Linked DNA regions of Homo sapiens: all the other regions are linked to region 1. Evidence: promoter capture Hi-C in 16 types of primary human blood cells and fetal thymus (Javierre and others, 2016). All regions are on one chromosome and are shown on one strand. Each heading gives the region's core, a stretch centred on a gene start or on the middle of the fragment in contact. The rest is flanking DNA. Distances are from core to core; before and after follow the strand shown. Region 1 holds the start of OR8K5 (olfactory receptor family 8 subfamily K member 5). Region 2 holds the start of OR5I1 (olfactory receptor family 5 subfamily I member 1). Region 3 holds the start of OR8K1 (olfactory receptor family 8 subfamily K member 1). Region 4 holds the start of OR10AG1 (olfactory receptor family 10 subfamily AG member 1). Region 5 holds the start of OR8K3 (olfactory receptor family 8 subfamily K member 3 (gene/pseudogene)). Region 6 holds the start of OR8U1 (olfactory receptor family 8 subfamily U member 1).

Region 1 (2,700 bases), core at 59-2,558:
GGAATAGGCTAAGACATCTTCACTATCTGTATCAGGGACGTTCCACTTTCTTTTATTGACTTCCCGTGTATTTTTTAAATAAAGGGAGAAGTACTTTTCATTGAAATAGTTTTAATTACAGTATTATATCTCCATGAATACTCCACTGTACAATTCCAGAAAAAAAGTCATTCACTAATATATGATGTCCTAAATTCTCAAATTATTTAAATGATTTATAGAACCTACCATCTTCACAGTGTTTTATTACAGAAAATAAAGTACATATAATTAAATAGTCATCACTGAATATTGATTTAAATCATGTTTTTGCAGAAGTGGATCCAGATTATGTGTCTTGAAGCTTAGAAGAATTTGACTTTTTAGATAAAATTACACATACAAGTTGAAAGATAAATGGGAATATTTATTTAGAATAGAAAATTAGCTTTAAATTGTAATTAGTAAACAAACCCATGGCCACAAACTATATAAAATTTATTAATATAGTATGTTAATTAATCAAATGCCAAATGCATCTCAGCATACAGGTGGCAAGAGTATCCTTAGAAGACATTCTTAAGTCAGAATAGGTAGTATTATTCAGTGATAAATATCATAGTGTCTGAATGATATAAACATATCCATTGAACATCAAATAAACTATTATTAACTCAATCCTTCTTTAGCTAGATCCCACAATGCTTGCAGAAATGTCAAGTCACTATGATATTAGTTGAAGTGTGATATACTAGAAGTTGGAATGAAAACAGAAAGCAGCCTTAATTGATCATGATTATTATATCTTACATTTGAAATTTTACAAAGATATATCATTTTTGCGTGCATTCGTAAGTCCCCACACAAGACCCTGGAAGTGCAAATGAGGGACCCCAAATCTTAACCTTCATTATCTTATTGCCATCTCTACCTCTGTCTTTGAGAATATCAAAATTACAGAAAAGTTTTACAACAAAAGTGGAAGTGAACAAAAGAAAATCATGATACCATTGTGCAGATGAAAAGAGCATAATCTTTTTGTAATAATACCTATATGGCTGTGTTATTAACCGATATACTTCAAATATTGATGAAACTATTTAATCTATGTTGTTTCAGTGCATGTATTTTACATGAATTCCTCTTTTAGGAAAGTAGAAAATTTTGCTTTATATTTCATTTCTGAATCAAATGTAGAAATAATGTTTCTATTATCTATTGTGAATAACAATCTATTCTGTCTACAAATATTATAATTTGTTTAAATAGCACTACATGGAACAGCTAATAACCCAACTGTTTCTTCCTAGAAGAGATAACTGGACTAAATGGGCCAACACAATCTAACAGTGCTAACTGAATTCATTCTGATGGAACTCACAAGGCGGCCTGAGCTGCAGATTCCCCTTTTTGGAGTCTTCCTCGTCATCTACCTAATCACAGTGGTGGGCAACCTAACTATGATCATTTTGACCAAACTGGACTCCCACTTACATACACCTATGTACTTTTCTATCAGACATTTGGCTTTTGTTGATCTTGGTAATTCTACTGTCATTTGTCCCAAGGTGCTGGCAAATTTTGTTGTGGATCGAAATACTATTTCCTATTATGCATGTGCTGCACAGCTGGCATTCTTCCTTATGTTCATTATCAGTGAATTTTTCATCCTGTCAGCCATGGCCTATGACCGCTATGTGGCCATTTGTAACCCTCTGCTCTATTATGTTATTATGTCTCAGCGACTGTGTCATGTACTGGTGGGCATTCAATATCTCTACAGCACATTTCAGGCTCTGATGTTCACTATTAAGATTTTTACATTGACCTTCTGTGGCTCTAATGTCATCAGTCATTTTTACTGTGATGATGTTCCTTTGCTACCTATGCTTTGCTCAAATGCACAGGAAATAGAATTGTTGAGCATACTATTTTCTGTATTTAATTTGATCTCCTCCTTTCTGATAGTCTTAGTGTCCTACATGTTGATTTTGTTAGCTATATGTCAAATGCATTCTGCAGAGGGCAGGAAAAAGGCTTTCTCCACATGTGGTTCCCATTTGACAGTGGTGGTTGTGTTCTATGGGTCTCTACTCTTCATGTACATGCAGCCCAATTCCACTCACTTCTTTGATACTGATAAAATGGCTTCTGTGTTTTACACTTTAGTAATCCCCATGCTTAACCCTTTGATTTACAGCTTAAGAAACGAAGAGGTGAAAAATGCCTTCTATAAGCTCTTTGAGAATTGATGTCAACTTTGTGTTTAATAATCAATTTGTAATATTGTTATAATAAATATATAATATAGATTAATGTCACTTGATAATTTTTCATGTGTATATAAATTTTCCAATTTTCAAATTTTTTTAATTGTTTTTTATTTCAATAATTTTTGGGAAGTAGGAGGTTTCTGGTTATGTGAATAAGTTCATTGGGGTAATTTCTGAGGTTTTGGTGCACTCATCACCTGAGCAGTGTACACTGTACTCAATGTGTAGCCTTTTATCCCTCGCCCACACTGCACACTTTTCCCTGTGTCCCCAAAATACATTATGTCATTCTTACCTATTTGTATCCTCATAGTTTAGCTCCCACTTATAAGTGAGAACATATGATATTTGGTTTTCCATTCCTGAGTTACTTCACTTAGAATAAAGGTCTCCAGCTCCATCCAGGTTGCTGTGAATGCCATTATTTTGTTCCTTTTTATAAGTGAGT
Region 2 (2,700 bases), core at 73-2,572, 220 kb after region 1:
CTCATTCACACGCTTTGAGGTGATAACATAAGGCAGCACTTTGAGCACGTGATTAACCCTTCTGATTATCAATAGGCTTCTCAGTGTTTATGTCATTGGGTAGTTTTATTGCTTACATGAGATAAATAAATTGTCTTTAGCACTGTCATTGTCATAATATCTATTATGTAAATGAGGCAGTGACTCAAATATTTTTAATTCCCATCTTGGCCCTCTCAACATGAACTTTAGAGATTGATGCTTTGCTTGCTTTTTTTTGTTGTTGTTTTGTTTTTTACGTATTTCCAAGTCTATCCTTCATGGTCAAAATCAAATTATTTGTACTTCAAAGTCAAGTTAAAAATTTTTATAATTCTGTAAGTATTTTGAGACCTCAGAAGCAGTGTTTAACAGATTTTTCTGACTCAACACTTTGTATTATACTACCATAACAATAAATGCAACAATTGTTCTTTACTTATAAAATTTAATCAGTGATGATGCCATATATAGTAATGTTATTTAATTGCAAGTTAACATATAACTAAATGTTTTGCTGACTGTACTTGGTCAGTCCACTAATGTTTAATGAGCATTTCCAGGAAGCCAAGGAGTTCGATAAATGCCAGAAGTATTGAAACAAGTAGTTAACTAATTTTATCAGCTTAGTTTAGTATGTGAACAGGGTTTATGGAATTACACTAAGCTCTTTTCTGTCAAAAATATCCTCAGAGCTGGTATTTACTGACATTTGTTTTTATTTCGCTAAAGCTTCTGCTTTACAGTAAAAAAAAAATTAGCCGGCATATTTCATCACACCACTCTATTTACTCAGTCAAGAGACACAGCATACCGGTATCTATCAAATCCTGAAAACAAGAAGCAGATGTTCTAAAATTCTTATTCAAAGGAACACTCTATAAGTCAGTCCATTTTTAATAATATACATATTTTCTTTACTTAATGTGATCATCAGTCTGTTCATTAATTTATTACTTTTTTAATACTCTGGGCCAGTAATTGTTTAATATTTTGGGTGCAAAATGGTAAGCCAAATCAGACATGATCCATGCACATAGGAAGTCAACTGTTCAATGGAAGAAATAGTAATCAAATAAAATATAACCTGCAACCATGAAATATGATATTACTAAATTCTGAAATATATTTCTCAGAGTTTATAGTTCAAAAAAGTTTGAGCTTGCTTTCTTTATCTTATTGCCATTTATTTATTTTTAAACAATAAAATAACTTTATAATTACATCTAATTATTTTTCTTTTTTCATCATTATAGCATTGTAGGGTATTAGAAATTCTCATAAAAGGAAAACAACACAGAAGATGGAATTTACAGATAGAAACTACACGTTGGTCACTGAGTTTATTCTATTAGGTTTTCCAACTCGCCCTGAACTGCAGATTGTCCTGTTCCTCATGTTTCTGACATTGTATGCTATAATTCTGATAGGGAACATTGGATTGATGCTGTTGATCAGGATTGATCCTCACCTTCAAACCCCCATGTATTTTTTCCTTAGCAACCTATCATTTGTAGACCTTTGCTATTTCTCAGACATTGTTCCCAAAATGCTGGTCAATTTCCTCTCGGAGAACAAATCTATTTCCTATTATGGGTGTGCCCTGCAGTTTTATTTTTTCTGTACTTTTGCAGATACAGAATCCTTCATCCTGGCCGCCATGGCCTATGATCGCTATGTCGCCATCTGTAACCCTTTATTGTACACAGTTGTGATGTCTAGGGGCATCTGTATGCGGTTGATTGTCTTGTCATACCTTGGAGGCAACATGAGTTCCCTGGTTCACACATCCTTTGCCTTTATTCTGAAATATTGTGACAAAAATGTTATTAATCATTTTTTCTGTGACCTCCCTCCCCTGCTTAAACTATCCTGCACTGACACAACAATTAATGAGTGGCTCCTCTCCACATACGGCAGCTCAGTGGAAATCATTTGTTTTATCATCATCATCATCTCCTACTTTTTCATTCTTCTCTCAGTCTTAAAGATCCGCTCTTTCAGTGGGAGGAAGAAGACCTTTTCTACATGCGCCTCTCACCTGACTTCAGTGACGATCTACCAAGGGACTCTCCTCTTTATTTACTCACGGCCCAGCTACCTGTATTCTCCAAACACTGATAAAATTATCTCAGTGTTCTACACCATTTTCATTCCAGTGCTGAATCCGTTGATTTATAGTTTGAGAAATAAAGATGTAAAGGATGCAGCTGAGAAAGTTCTAAGATCAAAGGTAGATTCTTCATGAGATAAAGCATCTCAAGATACATCTAATTTCTCAATCACATACTGTAATTGGGAACTTACAACAACCTTACCTGTACACACACACAACCTCTCACACTAGGGATTTTATCAAGCACTTTGTTTAATGCAGCCAAATGAATTTCATAGTCCTAAAATATTTTTAAAATCATTTAAAAGTTTCAAAGTTCCTGCTAAATGCTAGTTATACTACTTTTCAGTTATTACTAGCTTGAGATTTATGCTAAAATCAATTTCATCAAGCCATCTTAAGGGATATAGTAAATATTTCAGAAAAGTATGCATGCATGTACATGTGCGTATCTATCTGTAGAATATCTCAGTTATAAGTGTAGATTACTGGATAACTGGATAAGAAAATAAGTCAGATTGCTTTGATTTATATGCCAGATCTATACTTGGCTAGTGAGTGGCATA
Region 3 (2,700 bases), core at 21-2,520, 190 kb before region 1:
TGTTTGAACTATATAAGCTTTTCATTTTAACTCTGCAACTCTAAGTTTGACATAATTTGCCTTATTTATAAATAGTAGCGGTTCCAGTATGATTTCGAAAATTGCTTAGGACATATATTACCTGAATATAGTATTTATTTATTCCATTGAGGTGGCAAAGAGTACAGGTTGCTCTAAGAGGACATGTTTTGTCCAGAAAAAGAGGAAAATCTAAGCAGATAGAGTATTTCTACTTTTTTTATGTTATAATTGGTTTGACAGAGTACTAAACAGATTATTGTACCCAACTATGCAACTGAGTATTAAGATATTAAATGGGAATTTTGAATCGATTGGTTAAAGTTCTCTTTAGAGCATCTTTTACTTCTTTGTTCCTTAGGCTGTAGATCAACGGATTCAGCATAGGAATCAACAGGGTATAAAACACTGAGGCCATTTTATCAATAGCCAAAGTATGACTGGACTTGGGTTGCAAGTAAATAAATAACAATGTCCCATAGAACATGATCACCACTGTCAGATGAGAGCTACAGGTGGAGAAGGCTTTGTACCTCCCTTTCCTTGAGTTCATTCTGAGAATGGCCACTAGAATAAACATGTAGGATATGAGAACAATTGAGAGGGAGAAGAGCAAATTACAGCCTGAGAAGATCAAAATTATTAATTCTAATTCATTTGTGTCAGAACAGAGTATGGACATCAGAGGGATACAGTCACAGTAAAAATAGCTGATTATGTTTGAGCCACAGAAGGACAGTTTAAATAACTTAATTGTGAGAAATAGTGACACAAACGTGCTATAGAGATAGGGAACAATTACCAGCACCCAAAGTACTTTCTCTGCCATGATGATCACGTACAGAAGAGGTTTACAGATGGCTACGTAGCGATCATAGGCCATTGCTGATAGAATAAAGAGCTCAGAGATGATGAAAATCTCAAAGAATGCTAGCTGAGTGGCATACCAATTGTAAGAAATTGTGTTTTTGTGCACTATGAAGTTTACTAACATCTTCGGGGCAATGACAGTGGAGTAACCAAGATCAGTGATTGACAAATGTCTAAGGAAAAAGTACATGGGGGTGTGTAGCTTGGAGTCCAAGTAGGTCAAGATAACCATGCCCAGATTGCCTATCACTGTGACCAGATATATGATGAGGAAGAGTCCAAACAGTGGAGCCTGCAGCCCAGGGTTGTCTGTAATCCCCATGAGAATAAATTCAGTCACCTTGGTCACTGCCGTGTGATTGTGTTTTACCACATGATTCATCTTGGTAACTGTGCAAACTAGAAAATCAATATTTATTATATTTGAAACATTATCTTCTAAGAAAATTAACAATTTGATGTATGAGCAATAGAGGTATTTCCTTTATTTCAAATTCTAAATAGAGTCTCCTCTTCCCATCAGGTCAAAACCACACAAAGCTACAGTCACATTCATTAAAACTGTGGTAAAGTATAATTAAAAGGGGCAAGATATTTTGAAGTTGTTGTTTTGATGTAGCTACTATGACCTACTTTTTGGACCCAGAGTCATTTTAATTATGTAAAAATAGCTACCACTTTTGTTTCTGCTTACCACAATTTTCAGGTAATTTGTAAAACAAACATCTATACATTAAACTTTACATTTTTGCTGATCATTGAAAGAAGCAAGACAAGATTTTCAAAACTATAGATGGAGTAATGAATAGGGCAGTAGGAAATCTCTGATCATTATATACATGTCAATACTTCTGTCTATAAATTCAACTTGTTTACCAAAAACAAAATTTTATGCCATAATTTGAGAATTTTGTTAATAATATCTTAATCTGCATTTGAACTTTTTGCCTATTGAATTGCTGCTTCTAGTGAGCAATTGGGGGGATGTATAATCCCCCAATTATACATCCTTCTGCAGGAAAAAAAAAATCTGGCTGTTCTTACAATTCATGAACATTTAAGAGAGAATCATAAAAAAGGGCTCAGTGGATAGAGAAACACAAATGAATATCAAGAACCTAAGCAAATCCATAGCATGCTAGGCAATTTTGCAAGTGCTTTACACATATTAACTCATATGATCTACACAATAACTTTAGGAAGTAGGCAGTAATATCATCCCCATTTAAAAGAAAAAGAAACTGAGGCACAAAGAGTTGGATAATTTAACAAAGATCTTTCACATTATAAGTTGTAGTGTAAGGATTCAAGTAAAGCCATTCTGCCTTCAGAATATGTTCTCATAAACACTCTAACACACCACTTCTCCATTAGGGATACCCTTCATTGTTAGGAAGTGAGAATGAGACAGGAAAGACACAAGGTAAATAATGATAAAGATCTTTGTTAAAATAGATGACTGAAGCATGAAGTAATTTGAAAGCTAAGGTGGCATAAATAATGACCAGCCTCGAGTATTGGAGACTGTATAACAGGTCTGTCTGCACATCTGTCCTATTGATGACAGAACAGTATATTGCAAGGGAGGCAACAGTTTTGCAGAGAATGGGACCCTTCCAGATTTTTGGTGACAACCTGCTTTAAGGATGTACCCTTAGAAATTTTCTAAGACCAATGTTTCCGCTTACCTCAATGGAGAATTTGCTTTGCTTTCTACTGCTTTAGGCCTCATAGGTGGCTACCGAATGGATTTAAATTTTTTCTCCTCCCTTGAGACTCATTGTGTTGAAATGTTAATCTGACCCAAGGTTA
Region 4 (2,700 bases), core at 153-2,652, 190 kb after region 1:
CAGGGAAGGGAAGGCAATGTCCTCTGGCACACACACTCACTGGCAAAGGGATGCTGGTATTAGTGTTTTTATAATTAGCATAAATAATAGGAGAGAGACATAAATAGGGGGTGGCTATGGGTGAGTGAGTGCAGGCAAAGTGGCCCGAGAGGCTGCAGTGCAGGGAGGGTGCTGGTGGGCTGGCCTGTGTCTGCACAGGCTACTCTGCTGGATCAGTCTGCTGGTCAGCCGGGGGTCCACCAGCACAGGAGCTATGATGTGGCCCCCAGGAGGTACCTGGCTGGGGGCCAAGCTGGGACCCAGGAGAGGCCAGCAAACTGAGTGGTGCTGAAGTTAGAATAGCCTCATGTAGTGGGTGAGACTGCCGTGCAGAATTCAGGTCCCATAGTTCCCATAGGGCTAAAGCTTCCTACGGGAGCAGGTCAAGCCTGGGGGGATGGGCATCCCTGGCCATGCTCCACTACAGACACTTTCACACTAAACCCTCTGGATTCCACACAGGCTGGAGTTCTGCCCCTACCACTTGTCTAAGCATCTCTCCCTGCCAGTTCAAGTGTTACTTGTGGTCCAGGGGTTTTCTCCTGCTGGGATTCGGAGGCTCATGGAAAGAGAGGGTTGCTCCTTGCCCATTCAACTCATGCTTTTGCAGGAGTCACTGGGGGCCAGGAATGCTTCCTGTGTGTGGTACCCCCATGCAGAATTCCTTTCCTTCTGAAGATTTGCTAGGAGTGCACCAATCTTCCTGATGTCCTGGTCCCTCGTGGGCGATGTTCCTCTTGACTGCGTCTAGTGGGACGTCTTGGAGTGGTATATTACATTTTCAATCAGCTGGATACATTTCCCTGGTGCCTTATAGACAACACAGAATGAAATAAATGTATAGATAGATTTTCTCAGCAGAATTAACATGTTTTAATATCCACAAAAAAAGTTAACCTAGGAACAGAGGGTTCCACATCTGAAAAAGAATCTCACCGTTCAATATGTCGAAGACATCAAGCATATCATGTTCGTGTGATTAAACACATGATATATTTTTTAAAGGTCTAGTTAATTTGGATCTGGATAAATTATTGGAATAGAAGTAAGGCAGACAAATCCACACTAAGTATTAGGGGCCTCAAATACACAGTTGGAAAATTTTTAACTTTTTCCTGAAAGTAATACTAGACAACTAAATGGTATTTAATTAACTCCCCTCATGAGGAGATGAAGAGGAGGATAAGTTTACTTAAAGTAGTTTTGAAAAATGAATCAGAATGATTGACAAACAGAAGCAGCCTTCTAGAAATTAAACTGATACTCAAGAGAAGACACATCCCAGGTTGAGTCTGACTATTCCTATATAAGAGCTGTTGCTGTTTGAAACAAGCAAGCGTATTGCAAAATTACAGTTCCCGAGAAAAGGAAGAGCTTAAAAAGTCTGTACAGACAGCTTCATGCAAATCCCTAAAGGTAAGCCATAATTGGGTTGACAGACTATTTTATTTAAGAATAGTTACAAGTTTGTGGATAGAAATGCAACTAATAAAACAGAAAAGCATGAAATTTTGAGACCTTTATCTGAAAATTAATTATTTAACATTTAAATCATGTATCTCTTCACTACAAAGTTAAATAAAATTAGATGTCCAATAATGGTAAAATTGCATTAGTGATGAAAAGTCATTTAAGGCAATTTTGAAAACTAGTACTAATAGAAATGTATAAATATGAGATAGTATTTGTCTGATCACTTTCATTTATCAACGTATTAAGTCAAATGCATTGGCTGACCGGGCTAAAATAGGTATAGGTGCAGCAGATTTGAAGACACAGAAAAAAAGAATTTGTTTAGAAAGTTGGAGAACAAACGTTAAGCAAGTGTAATGGGAATTGACAAGCAGTGATTTCCTCATATTGGATGACATTGACATGAAGTGAAGCAAGACAGTGTGTTTTTGTTTTGTTTTGTTTAATTTTTTGGTCCCATTTATATGCTCTGGCCACTTAGATGGCCAGAGTAAATGTTAGCTGGGTTTAATCAAAGAATTTTACTTTAATAAGGCAACAGGATGAAGGGAAAATAGAGAGAAGGAATTGTATTTGGTTGAAAGGAACTGTATTTGGTTATATGACAATGGAGAAATTCACTTAGATAAAAAAAAGAAATGTAAAAAAAATTGTGATGAATTTCTACATCTTGATTAAGTTATAATTTAATTACTATTTAGCATTCACTGTATTCAGGGCAATAACAGGGGAAGTCAATAAACTGCCTACTGGTATTAGTGTTTTTATATTTAGCATAAATAATAGGAGAGAGACATGAAGTAGAGCAACAATAATGCATGTATTTAGTCTCTCAGTAACCAAGAAATTGTTTAAGATAATTGATTCTCACTGGTGCATAAAAGGAAAAGTTTAAAATTCATTTTGAGTATGAATTAATCGTAATATTCAAGGGCAACATTTTGAATTAAAAAAACTGGAATATGACTACCAATACAAAGAAAAATGATATTCTCAGATGAAATAGTAAAAGCCTACACTATAACTCTACTCTTAAGTGTGAAATAATAAGATGTTATTCCTCCATAATATTTTCTAAACAACAATGCATGCTTCTCAATGCCTCTGGTTGCATTATATCCCAGTATAATAAAATATATTGAGGTTTCATTTCTTAAATTGATTTTAATGCTAAATCAGTTTATTATC
Region 5 (2,700 bases), core at 10-2,509, 150 kb before region 1:
AAAAGAAAGAAAATAGTTTTTACAATGAAAATTATAGTGACAGCAATCTCAGAGTGAGCTATGAAAAAATAAAGACAAGCAATTGTGTTACATTAAATATAAAGATGATTACATATTATTTGAACTTAATTTTTTAAATAAAATTATGACCTACTCCTATCCTACCCTGACTCAATGAACACACCTTTCTCATATTAGATATATGGTAATGTGTGGCAGTAGATGGAAAAGTTAGATAAATATCTTTAGTAAATAAGATGATGAGCAGCATAAATCCTGTATTTTGTTTGCTTGTTTTGTACAGTTTGGCAATTTAGAAAGGCAAATAATATCATGGATAAGTACCTGTTTTCTTGTTAGGTAAGGAAATATAAATGAGGTTCCTTTCACCATCTTTGGAGTTCTGTGGAAAGAACCAGATTGCTTTTTTTCATATTTTGCTGTCTTTGTTGAATATCAATTGCATTTTTTAAAGCTACAATCTTTGAGAAAATAATATCTGCTTTTGTCAACTCTTAGTGGAAATTGAAGTACTTTCTGAAAATTGTATTGTTCCCTAAAACTGGGTACTTAACAGTCTCCTAATTTTATTTTCTTCTATTTTAAAATGTTTTTTTTTTCTGTGCCTATGATTACCCAAAAAGCCTCATAATTTTTAATAATGCTTTTCACATTCGAATGTAAGGTAGCAACCCCCTTTTTGACTCACCAAGCAGTGAGAAAACAATCATATCTACACATTTATTTGAATAATCATTCAGTGTTAAATTATTGTTAAGGGGTCTGAGAGCCTAGAGCATCTAAATAACAAGTATTTGGAAGGACATGAACATGACTGACCAAATAGTTGCAGTTTCTCCATTCTTTCATTAAAAATATATTTATCTCCTTGTCATTGTGCTTTATTTTCTCCAAGTTTTGGCCTCAATTAGAGAAAAATATGTAAAATGAATACTTTAGAAACAATATCATGATAATGTTTCAAAGATGCTTATAGCATTCAGCCTGTGAAACCATGTAAAATACTTAAAAAGCATATGAAAAATGGAGCACCGTTATTTCTGCTTAGGCATTATTGAGTAACAGAAATCCCGGAGAAATGAATCAGAAATTGTCACACTTTACTATGGTTATGTCATCAAATTAAAGTGGCAGTTTTCCAATGTCACTGAAGCATTATAGATATCTGTAACATATGACACCACAAGAAACATTCTTACTTTTTTTTTTTTTACCTGTAAGGAAGCCTCTGTCTTGACTCCTCCATGTGTCTCTCACATGGCACAGTGAGAACAATTTATGCATTTTTTAATCTTTTGAGACTCTCCCTGAGGAGATGGCAGGCAATTTATTGATAATTCCTAAAGCATTTGAGAGCATAACAAAATGTTTGAGGCTGTCCATTAGTTGTAGAAGACAGTTTGTATTCACTAGTGTATCAGAGTTCTCCAGAAAAACAGTACTAAGAAGAGATAGTTAGATGAGAGATGATAGATAGATAGATAGATGATAGATAGATAGATAGATAGATAGATAGATAGATAGATAATAGAGATTTATTATGAATTGTTTTATGCAATTATGTAGGCTGAGGATTCCTGTGATTTGCTGTCTGCAAACTTCAAGAAAGCTGGTGGTATAGATTCAGTTCAAACTTGAAATATTGGGAGCCAGGGGAGCCAAGGGTGTACATCATAGTCTGAATTCGAAGGCTCTGGAATCTGGGATGTCAATGTCTGATGGCAGGAAGCGAAGGATGTCCTAGCTTAAGCAGGGAGTGAACTCACCCTTCCTCTGTCTTTTTGTTTTATTCAAGGCCTCAATTGATTGCACTGATACCCACCTATATTGGTGAGGATGATAGTTACTCTGTCTAACAATCGTAGTCTCTTCCAGGAGTATCCTCACAGGCACACCCAGAAATAATGTTTGCCAGCTATCTGGGCATCATATAGCCTAGTTAAGTCAACACTTTAATCGTCATTACTCCACCCCTTGTCAGCTTGGCAAACATAAGCATGTACTTAAACCATACTTAGTCTCTCTAAACATAGACAATAACAAGGTCATAGTTTTGCTTTACATGACACAACTATCCGGCATATAAATAAAAACTCACTAATCCTTTATTCCAATCAGGACATATATTCTTTGAGTGATACTGACTCTTCTCCTGATTTTCTCAGAGTAAAATTCTACAGTGTAAAAGTAACAATATTTAAATATTGATGTAAAGTCCATATATCATATTTATATAATAAGGTAATAAAAAATGGAATAAAGCATCTTAATAAATACACAGACATATTTATAATAAAATTAGGATGGAATTCTCATTACAATTACAGTCCTCATTTCTGAACTGGCCACATGATTATAGCTGGTATTTATAACCGTCTTCTTCTTCTTTCCATACTCTATTCCTTTTGTCTTTAGCAAGCACCTTAGTTGGCCATGGTTCTTTTTTCCTTGTGAAGTGGCCCAAACCTTTATTCCTGAAGAATGTGGGCCATTAGTAGTTCTGGCTAGTTTGGGCTATTACAGTTTTCCGTATATTATTATTACAGTTTTTCTTATTAATAAAAGATGTCCTAAGGAATGTCCCATATTCCAGGCTTATTCTTCCTTGTATTGTGAAGTAATAGCCCAATTTCCCCTGGAAAGTCAGGATCAAGTGTGATAACTTCCTGTTTTGTCTAT
Region 6 (2,700 bases), core at 153-2,652, 220 kb before region 1:
AAAAATTAGGAATTGAGAAAGAAAATGTTTAGACTATGTGTCTTTATTTTTCACGTGGGATATTGTAAATACAGCTTCAGAATCCTGAACTGGGGATGGACGGGGAGAGGAGTTAACTTTTGTCTGTGCTCTGCACATAACTAATTATATATCTTGATGATGACTTTTTATGCATTCTTCATTTGAGAAATAGGAAAATTGGTATAAAATATTATGCAAGAAAATTAATAATTTTAATATATTTTCCACTTGAAAAATAAGAGAAGTGTTGTAAATTCTTATAGTTACTTTTATACCTAACGTTCTAAGAGAAATTCTCTAGAAAATTGTATTACACAGCGAAAATATATGTATACATCACATATTGAGAAACAAGGATCCTGATAACTTATACTGGGAAAAAAATCATACCATGAAAGAAGTCCATTTTTCCTTACTCAAGTTACTTTCTTAATTTTATAAACACAAAACTCTAGTTTTTATTGATAATGATTTTCTTCAGAGCTTCTTTCACCTCCTTATTCTGGAGGCTATAGATTAAGGGATTCAACATGGGAATGATCACTGTGTAGAAGACAGAGGCCATCTTGTCTGTGTCCAGGGCATGGCTAGAGCTAGGCTGTAAGTACATAAAAATGAGGGTCCCATAGAATATGGTGACTGCCAGCATGTGAGAGCCACACGTCGAGAAAGCCTTCTGTCTTCCCTCAGCTGAATGCATCCTCAGGATGGCAGAAATGATGAACATGTAGGAGACAAAGACAATCAGAAGGGAGGAAATGAACATGATACCAGCACAGGCAAAGATCCAGAGCTGTTTGAAGCGAGTGTCTGAGCAAGTTAGCCTGAGGAGAGGCATGTCATCACAATAGAAATGGTTGACAATGTTGGAGTGGCAATAGGAGAGGCGGAAGGTGAGGATGGTGTGAAATAGTGCCATTAGGAAGCTATAGCTATAAGGAACTGCTACAAGTTGAATGCAGATTCCTGGAGTCATTACAACCATATACAATAGAGGGTTACAAATGGCCACATATCGGTCATAGGCCATGGAAGCCAGTAGCAAGGATTCTGATATCATGAAGGTGAGAAAGCAGCCCAGTTGAGTAGCACATGCATCAAAGGATATAACATTTTGTTTGTACAAGAAATTCCCAAGCATTTTGGGTGTAATGACAGAAGAGTAACAGAAATCCACAAAAGCTAGGTTGCTAAGAAAGAAGTACATTGGTGTGTTGAGACTTGTATCCGCTCTAATGAGTAGGATCAAACCCAAGTTGCCTACCACTGTGAAGAGGTAGATGGATAAGAATAGCACAAAGAGGGGCATCTTCAACTCCTGATGGTCTGTGAGGCCCACAAGAATAAACTCTGTCGCCTGGGTGCAATTGATGTGAGCCATATCTTTTCTGGCCATCTAAATGTGGAAGTAGAGAAAAGAGTTAAGTCTAAGTCATATTTTAATACTGTAAATCCTATATGTGGTGTTTTTATATTTATTGTATTGTAAAGAGTTTAATTAATTAGATTTATTTATTAATTTATTTAACTAATATAATGATTGTTAGCATACTGGAATTCTGGAAATGTGATGGAGAGCAAAAAGAATATAACACCGTATAAACATCTTTATATCTAAAGCATGAACTTACATGAATGTAGGGAATGAATCCTCACATAATCTTATCCTGTAAATTAGAGTAAAATTGATATTTGCTTTCTAAGAGATTTGGAAGTTTATGTTTCTTTACATTCAGTTTATGTCTGCTTTTTTATCTTTTATTAAAAAACTGATTTAATTACATTTTTTGCATTAATTTTTGTTTTCCTACTCTATTTAATGTTGTGTATCATCATTTTCTTATTCATTTTGGATAATTTTAAAATTGAATTATTGAATACCCAAATAGTATCAAATATCATGTCTCTCAACTCCTCTTTCTTCTCTCTCCCACCATTATATCTAGTAATGGAAAATAGAGCTTTCCTTAAAAACTTATAAATTTCACGCTTTGAAAATTACTATGCAAATAAATATATAAATAAAATAAGAGCCTGTGTTTCTTCACTGTTCTTCAGAGTTTACTAATAGCTCTTGAGTATTTACTTCTGCTCAATTAATCAAAGAATCCATTTCAGTTATTTGTGTTTTGTATTAATAAACATATTTATTGAGCAACATAATGTGGTAAGTAGTAACTTTCAAAAAATACTTATTTACCTTAATTTTATTCTAAATAAATTATATTTATTATATGTATAAGATACATATTAGATATGCAATATGTAAGTATATACTAGATATCCTAAAACCCTAATACAGATGGAACATTAATGTCTAATTATAGCAACATGGAAATTGATGGATAAGGACATAGGAACCCATAAATTCCAAATCTCTAATTGCATGTTAAAAACTGAACGTCAATTTTGAGTTAAAATAGGAAAAAGAAAAGAGAAAAGGGAGGTAAGTAAAAAGAGAATTTTTGGTCTTTGCACTGCTCAGACCAAACCCTTCTCAAGAAGACTAACTTTCAGACTCAAACTTTTTTATGACAAACTATAGAAATAAATACTTGTTATAAGATGGCATGGAACTAATAGATATATTGAGAATAATACTTTTGCTTCCCTGACATCCGCTTGTATTACATATTCTTTCGTTTTCTAGCGTAATCTGTTCCATTCTATTTAATTCAA

What was found. Contacts are between HindIII fragments. The CHiCAGO score rates a contact against its expected background, and 5 or more counts as called.
Region 2: the fragment with the promoter of OR5I1 here is called in contact with the fragment with the promoter of OR8K5 in region 1 in 10 of 17 cell types (total CD8 T cells, neutrophils, megakaryocytes and 7 more); the score reaches 13.1 in total CD8 T cells.
Region 3: a contact is called between the fragment with the promoter of OR8K1 here and the fragment with the promoter of OR8K5 in region 1, in 8 of 17 cell types (neutrophils, non-activated CD4 T cells, naive CD8 T cells and 5 more). The highest score is 11.7, in neutrophils.
Region 4: a contact is called between the fragment with the promoter of OR10AG1 here and the fragment with the promoter of OR8K5 in region 1, in 10 of 17 cell types (neutrophils, erythroblasts, naive CD8 T cells and 7 more). The highest score is 10.0, in neutrophils.
Region 5: a contact is called between the fragment with the promoter of OR8K3 here and the fragment with the promoter of OR8K5 in region 1, in 12 of 17 cell types (neutrophils, fetal thymus, non-activated CD4 T cells and 9 more). The highest score is 10.8, in neutrophils.
Region 6: a contact is called between the fragment with the promoter of OR8U1 here and the fragment with the promoter of OR8K5 in region 1, in 8 of 17 cell types (naive B cells, neutrophils, total B cells and 5 more). The highest score is 7.2, in naive B cells.

What each region holds. Positions count from the first base shown.
Region 1 is chr11:56,158,925-56,161,624 of GRCh38, reverse strand. It overlaps OR8K5 (olfactory receptor family 8 subfamily K member 5), which reads left to right and starts at 1,308. Exons shown (of 1, transcript NM_001004058.2): 1 at 1,308-2,231. The coding sequence starts at 1,308. The coding sequence ends at 2,231. The HindIII fragment of the contact is 6,274 bases long and covers 346-2,700 here.
Region 2 is chr11:55,935,022-55,937,721 of GRCh38, reverse strand. It overlaps OR5I1 (olfactory receptor family 5 subfamily I member 1), which reads left to right and starts at 1,322. Exons shown (of 1, transcript NM_006637.1): 1 at 1,322-2,266. The coding sequence starts at 1,322. The coding sequence ends at 2,266. The HindIII fragment of the contact is 3,136 bases long and covers 753-2,700 here.
Region 3 is chr11:56,344,609-56,347,308 of GRCh38, reverse strand. OR8K1 (olfactory receptor family 8 subfamily K member 1) reads right to left here and starts at 1,270. Exons shown (of 1, transcript NM_001002907.1): 1 at 311-1,270. The coding sequence starts at 1,270. The coding sequence ends at 311. The HindIII fragment of the contact is 5,993 bases long and covers 20-2,700 here.
Region 4 is chr11:55,968,647-55,971,346 of GRCh38, reverse strand. OR10AG1 (olfactory receptor family 10 subfamily AG member 1) reads left to right here and starts at 1,402. Exons shown (of 2, transcript NM_001005491.2): 1 at 1,402-1,455. The coding sequence starts at 1,440. The HindIII fragment of the contact is 3,009 bases long and covers 408-2,700 here.
Region 5 is chr11:56,313,703-56,316,402 of GRCh38, reverse strand. OR8K3 (olfactory receptor family 8 subfamily K member 3 (gene/pseudogene)) reads right to left here and starts at 1,259. Exons shown (of 3, transcript NM_001005202.2): 1 at 1,236-1,259; 2 at 346-403. The HindIII fragment of the contact is 10,208 bases long and covers 1-2,700 here.
Region 6 is chr11:56,374,326-56,377,025 of GRCh38, reverse strand. It overlaps OR8U1 (olfactory receptor family 8 subfamily U member 1), which reads right to left and starts at 1,402. Exons shown (of 1, transcript NM_001005204.1): 1 at 473-1,402. The coding sequence starts at 1,402. The coding sequence ends at 473. The HindIII fragment of the contact is 6,958 bases long and covers 1-2,700 here.